2 separate regions of the Homo sapiens genome follow, and region 1 is linked to region 2. Evidence: promoter capture Hi-C in 16 types of primary human blood cells and fetal thymus (Javierre and others, 2016). All regions are on one chromosome and are shown on one strand. The core of a region is centred on a gene start or on the middle of the fragment in contact, and the rest is flanking DNA. Distances in the headings are between cores, read along the strand shown. Region 1 holds the start of SLF2 (SMC5/6 complex localization factor 2). Region 2 holds the start of GOLGA7B (golgin A7 family member B).

Evidence for each region. The method cuts DNA at HindIII sites, captures the fragments that hold promoters and counts their contacts. A CHiCAGO score of 5 or more calls a contact.
Region 1: a contact is called between the fragment with the promoter of SLF2 here and the fragment with the promoter of GOLGA7B in region 2, in 1 of 17 cell types (M0 macrophages). The highest score is 5.2, in M0 macrophages.

Annotation. Positions count from the first base shown.
Region 1 is chr10:100,911,581-100,914,827 of GRCh38, forward strand. It overlaps SLF2 (SMC5/6 complex localization factor 2), which reads left to right and starts at 1,383. Exons shown (of 20, transcript NM_018121.4): 1 at 1,383-1,670. The coding sequence starts at 1,531. RefSeq lists a silencer at 903-1,172 and enhancers at 1,393-1,462, 1,483-1,532. The HindIII fragment of the contact is 2,989 bases long and covers 274-3,247 here.
Region 2 is chr10:97,848,259-97,851,491 of GRCh38, forward strand. GOLGA7B (golgin A7 family member B) reads left to right here and starts at 1,585. Exons shown (of 5, transcript NM_001010917.3): 1 at 1,585-2,057. The coding sequence starts at 2,046. GOLGA7B-DT (GOLGA7B divergent transcript) reads right to left here and starts at 1,540. Exons shown (of 3, transcript NR_108035.1): 1 at 1,408-1,540. The HindIII fragment of the contact is 7,033 bases long and covers 1-2,456 here.

The DNA.
Region 1 (3,247 bases), core at 133-2,632, 3.1 Mb after region 2:
CCAGAACAGTTCAATTTCGTTTTTTCTAAATTTTAATTAATTAATTTATTTTTGAGACAGGGTCTTGCTATGTTGCCCAGGCTAGTCTCCAACTCCCGGGCTCAAGCTATCCACCTGCCTTGGCCTCCCAAACTGCTGGGATTATAGATGTGAGCAACTGTATCAGGCCAATAGTTCAATTTCTATACAATAAACTTGAAAGACCCGTCCAAATTATTTTATATCATTTAAGATTTTTTTCCATCCAACTGATTAAATAACTCTGTCAATTAAAGCTTGGACATCTTGAAATTGATATTTTGGTTGTTAACAGTTATTGCAACAGTATTTGACCTGTCTCTGGAAGATTTTGTAAAGAAGTAAAATTCGCTGTAGGAATCTATCTGGGGAAGAAAGGGAACTATAATTTGCTCTGTACCTGTTACATGAGAGAATCTGAACTGTGCAGTGTACACTGTTTTATCCTTTTATGGTTTACAATTACCCAGAAAAGTGAGTAAAATGCCCGTTTTACAGATGTGGAGGCTGAGGTTCAGAGATACTGACCAGTCTCTCGGTTTATAAGGAAAACCATGGCTAACAGCCTCCAGAGCACAAGCCCTTTACAAAGGAGGGTTGGAGATTGCAGGCAGCTTTTACTTATCTATGCTGCCCACGCTTAACATGGAAAACTGAAAGCTGACCTTGTGTTCCTTTAAAAAATCTCCAAGGAAGTCGGCTGCAGAGACTTCATGGTAACTCATGAGAAACAAAATGCTTTTGTGGATTAACAACTGTCTTTATTCCAATGGAGTTTTTTGGGGGTTTTTTCTTCTTCTTAAAGACAAAAAAATAATCTACCGCTGACACTCAACAAGAACCGTCGTAGAATGGACAAGTCTTCGGATCGCGCTGTGCAGATCCCTCAGCAAATTGTGACAGTATTATGGCACTTTGGCCTAAGCTGTTAAAGAGACGATGTAATGAACAGCTGCGGATTTCTGAGGCACAATTGTGTGACACAGGAAGCCCAAGTGTTGGCCATCCTCAACGAAGGCAGCTGCCGGGCTCCGGTTTGCTTCAGCAAACCCTCACCCCTCGCCTTCAACCAGGCGGGTGTCGTCAGCTGTCCGCCAGCTGCTGCCCGCGCCTTTCCGCCCCCGCGCGCCGGCCAAGGCCGAGGCGGCCGGGACCAGAGGCGCGCGCCCTCAGTGCATGTGACGGGGTGGGAGGGGGAGGTTTCTTCCTCCCCCGTCCCCAAGCCCCGCCTTCTCCAGAGAGGCTGCGGCTTCCTATTGCGCCACCACCGAAATGACCACCGTGCCAGCCAATCAAGACGTGATTCATGAAGTAAGACCCGCCCCTTACTGGTCCCCAGGTTCCTTCCCGCTCACGCCGGAGTCACTTCCGAAGAGAGAACCGCCATGAAGAGAGAAGGGGGTGCCGCCCACCTCTGCTCCGACAGCCTCCCGGAGTCCCAGCAGCAAGACGGCAACCACGCACCCAACTTCTCCAGCCACGGCTCATGCCGCCGTCGCCAGCGGCGCCGACATGACAAGGCGCTGCATGCCCGCTAGGCCAGGTTTCCCCTCATCCCCAGCCCCGGGGTCGTCGCCCCCGCGCTGCCATCTGAGACCCGGTAGTACCGCCCATGCTGCAGCGGGAAAGAGAACAGAGAGTCCTGGGGACAGGTACCGTGCAGAGGGCTTGAGAAGGGGCCGGGTCGCGGGGGCAAGGGTATGAGGGGAGGGCTGCAGACCGCCGCTCTTCCAGTTCCCGCCATCCTCCGCGAGCTCAGGCGTTGGCATTTCGGGGCCTGGCAAATCCCCGCCCCGCCTCCGCGCAGGGGCTACTGGGAGTTGGAGTTTGCTTCTCTGTAGTTGGGCAGCTGCTCTTGGTCTAGTGACCACCAGCCTGGACAGCTACGGAGAACCCGCCTTAGGTAGAAAGAAAGTGATTTTTTTCCTTTGCAAGAGTTTGACCCGGGACCCTAACTGCTTAATGCATATTTAGATCGTTTTCTGTACGTTGTCAGTTCTACTGATCCTAGTGGTTTAGTAATATAAACCTTTTCTATGTTGTGGGTGAAATTATGTAACCTGTGATGAGGGAATCCCTTCCACGAATTACTTTGTAGTCCAGCGTGCACGCTAGTTCATACTTAAAAGAACTTGCAGATTTGGAATGTGACGTGTTTTCTCTTTCAGTAACTTCACGCCTCTCCAAGAGGCTAATTTTTTTGTAAAGATTTTGTGGGAGCTATGTAATGAGATGGGGAGTTTCATCTAATGACATCCTCTGACAATAAAACATGTTTAAATTCCCTACGAACTTGGTACTGTCTTTTATTTTAAGTTAAATTGTATTAAGTTTTAACAATATTCATGTTACTAATACTGTGGTACAGGCCCACAATCCCTTATCTTAACTCTGAAAGCCAGAAAGCTATGAAAACCAAAACGTTTTCAGTAAGTTTGGCACCACATCTTACTGGGCAGCCAGATCTGACTAAAACTAATGTAAGGCTGTTTGTGGTCTTTATCCCATTAAGTGTGAATATTCATGTTTTGCTGGAGAAATGTCAGTGGATTTGATTACAGGTTGCAGCACCAGACCCCACTGGGGACTTTCCATAATACATCCAAGTTATCCCCTTCCTAAAATCTGATAAATTCAGAATTCTAAAACACATTTGGCCCCAGAAGGTTCAGATAAGGGTTTGTGAAACTGTTATAATTGTGTGTGTGTGTGTGTTTTTTTTTAAGCCAGTTGTTAAATAAGCAGTGGACATTTTGTGTGCATATGAACTTAGAGAACCTACCTCTTGAAAGTTACATTCATGGTTATTTTACAGGTTTCTTGTATGTTTTACCCAAAATCATTTTTTCTCTTTCTGGTGTATTAATCAAAAAGGAGTCTGAGGTCCAATATTTTAGGGAAGAGATACAGTGTTACATTTAGTAAAATGCATTTAGAATTATCTTGTGTGCAACAAATGAGCTGCTTCTGGGTCCCTTCCCATCTCTCCTCAATCAATAACAAGATCAATAACAAGGTATCATCCTTCTTCCCTTTGCAGAACCTCCAACATTTACTCTGGTGGAGTTAATTTGCCTAGTATAATTTATGTAAACAAATGCATATATTCTTCCATAGCCCGTCACTCATATTCATCTCATAAGCACTTAGCTTTTATACCAGCATCTCAAACAAGCGTGATGGACTTGGTAAACCAGTAAAGATGTGCATTGCTCTTCTAATGTGACCA
Region 2 (3,233 bases), core at 335-2,834:
TTTTACAGAAAGAGAACCATAAGCTCAGAAAACAAGACAGTTGCTCGAGGTTATACAGCTGGAAAAGCCTGGGCCAGGTCTCTTGGCCGCCAGGTTCTCCCTGTGTGTGGGCTTCAGACTCTCAGGCAGCAGTGAGCTGCAGAGGAGCACACCCCACCACCCCTCAAAGAGACCAAGGGGTATTATGGGTATGTAAAAAGGCACTTGTGTTGGTGTTTCCTTTTTTTTATGTCTATTTTATTTATTTATTTATTTATTTATTTTTTGAGACAGAGTTTCGCTCTTGTCGCCCAGGCTGGAGTGCAATGGTGTGATCTCAGTTCACTGTAACCTTTGCCTCCCGGGTTCAAGCAATTCTCCTGCTTCAGCCTCCTGAGTACCTGGGACTACAGGCGGGTGCCACCATGCCTGGCTAATTTTTTTTTGTATTTTTGGTGGAGATGGGGTTTCAGCATGTTGGCCAGGCTGGTCTTGAACTTCTGCCCTCAGGTGATCCACCCGTCTCGGCCTCCCAAAGTGCTGGGATTACAGGTATGAGCCACTGCTTCCGGCCTTATTTTTATTTTTTTAAGAGACAGGCTCTTGCTCTATTGCCCAGGCTGGAGTACAGTGGCACAATCATGGCTAGCTGCAGCCTTGAACTCTTGGATTCAAGTGATTCTCCTGCCTTAGCCTTCTGAGTAGCTGGGACCACAGGCACACATCACAACGCCCGGCTAATGTTTTCATTTTTTGTGCAGACAGGGTCTTGCCCAGGCTGGTCTTGAACTCCTGGGCTCAAGCAATCCTCCCACCTCAGCCTCCCAAAGTGTTGGGATTACAGGTGTGAGCCACTGCACCTGGTCTCCTTTTTATTAAACAAATAGATCATTTAGTTGGAATTTATGATGTCAAAAGTGCGAAGGTGGCACCAGAGCCAGACCTGCCATCCTTGGAGAGTGAGCATACCGGTTTGGCACCATCTGCTTGTGGTTTTTGAGTGGTGGTGGTAGTGGTGGTGCGTGTATGTAAACTCGGGTTGCAGAGGAGAGAGGGAAGAGTAAAGGGTGGGGACCAGGTCCAGGAAGAGCAGCAAGGAGAGACTGGCTTCAATTCTGGAGCTGCCTGAAAGAAGGGACCCCAGGCTATGGCTGAGAACGAAATGTGGGCACGTATTTAAAGAAAGGAAATGATTCTCTGCGGTCGGCAGGATCTTTGTCTAGCTAGTGGGGTTCCAGGAAGTGCAAAGGAGAGGGGAAAAGAGGGGCCGTCCGTGCAAGCCTGACTGTGTGTATATGGGGGGGGGGCACACAGAGAGGAAAAGGGAGAGAAAGAAAAGAAATTATTCTAAAGAGGAAGCTGGGGGCGGGGCGAGGGAGGGGTAGAGCCGGGGCACTGGGGGTGGCTGGAAAGGTAGAGAGGCCTCACCTGCGGGCCTGCGAGCGGCTCGGGAGCGGTCAGCCTTGCAGGCTGAAGCGTCTTGCCCCGGAAAAATTCCTGCCCCACTGTCCTTCAGGCTGGATGTCCCGGGGGCCACGGAAGCGAGCGCAGAGCTCCGGGGCTCTCACGAGGGGGAGGGCAGGAAGGGGAGGCGGGGCCTCGCGCGGGGCGGTAGCCGAGCCTGTGGCCCGGGCGGGGCTCCTCTCCGGCGGCGCCGGAGTCTGGGGGCCGCGGCTTCCCCCTCCCGGCCAGCGGCGGCTCCTGGCCCCTCCTCCCCCGGCCGCCCCCATCCCCGCCGCCGCCGCCGCCAAAGCTAAACCCGGCCGTTGCCTGCAGGAGCCGCGGCAGCGGGCGATCGGGCCGTGAGGAGCCTCGGGCGCGGCCTCGCCTCCCGGGCCCGGCGCCTGCCTCAGCACAGCGGACAGCGCCGCGCCCCTTGCCTGGACCCAGCCGCCCGCCCGCCCCCGGCCCACCTGAGCCCGGGCCCGCGGCGCCCGCATCAGCACTGCGGACAGCGCCCCGGGCCCCAGCTCGCCGCCACCGCCGCCGCCCACCTGCTCCCGGGGTCAGCACCGCGGAGACCCCCCTCGCCCGGCCCCGCGACAGCCTCCGAGCGCCCCCGGATCATGGCCACCGAGGTAGGGGCGAGCGCCCCACCCGCAGGCAGTGCCCGATTGCCGCGGGACCAAATGCCCTAGGGGTGGGCTGGGCAGGAGTGGGAGGCGGGAGTTGGGGGTGGGATGGGGTGATTCCCCAGGTCAGGTCTGGAGGGAGGAGGTAGGGGCTTAGTGAGGGCTCATCTCCCCCTTGCGTGTCAATCTTCCCCTCGCCCCACCTGAGCCCCCAAGCTGTCCGCGACACTTGTTGGCATTAGCGCCAGGGTTGCTTCAGGGCCCCAGGCTGGGGTTTCCCCTTCCCTGGACTTCACAAGTCCTGAAACCGCTTTCCTAGAGGGTTGGAGACGCGTGTGTGTGCGTGTGTGAGGGGAGGGAAGGCGGCTGTCCGCTGTTGCTATGCAGTCAGCTTCTGAACCCAAAAGCTTGGCTAAGGGATGACAGACTTACCTCTACATCCGCATTTCCTTTGCGGGAGGGAGGGGACAAAGACATCCTCAGGCTGAGAACCCAAATGGTTGGTCTCCACTTTTGCATATCACCCTTCTTGCTTTTTTACCCCATTCGAGTTTTTTTTTTTTTTTTGTCCCAGGGTGTCCAGATTTCCCCTCCATCTGATGGGAGTTTCTGCCTTCTTCAAGGTGCACTGATAGGTGTGTCACCTTCAAGCACTTGAAGGCTGAACCACGGGGCCTGTTAGCTAAGGGCAGAATCTTGGTATAATGCTTGAGGTCGAGGATTCCCCCCTCTACCCCTAGGGATTGCCCTTTCCCCCCTCATTTCAGGAGGGAGATTGGGCTCTTTATGTTCCCACTTTATACATGATAAAGGTGATGTGTGGAAAACGAAAGGACTAATTTGCTACTCCACACAGCATGTCAGCAGCAGAGCGGAAAGTTTTTGCCTTTGAATTTTTGGAGCGAAACTCAGGACATCAGGGTCTCCCCAGTTCTGATGTTGACTTCCTTTGTGGTGTCTCCCCATTTCCAATCCAGCTGGCATACACTGGGGGAGAGCAGAGGCCTGTGAATGATTCAATGCAGTGCTTCTGGGCATCCTGGTGAGCAGTGTGACATTAATACCAAGTGTGGCTGTTGTTATTCCACTCAAGTTTCCACCACAGAACAAGGTGCTGTTGCTTGGCATTGCTTGGCATTCTGACAAGGCACAAGGTTAGCTAGGCGGAGAGTTGCCCCTCAG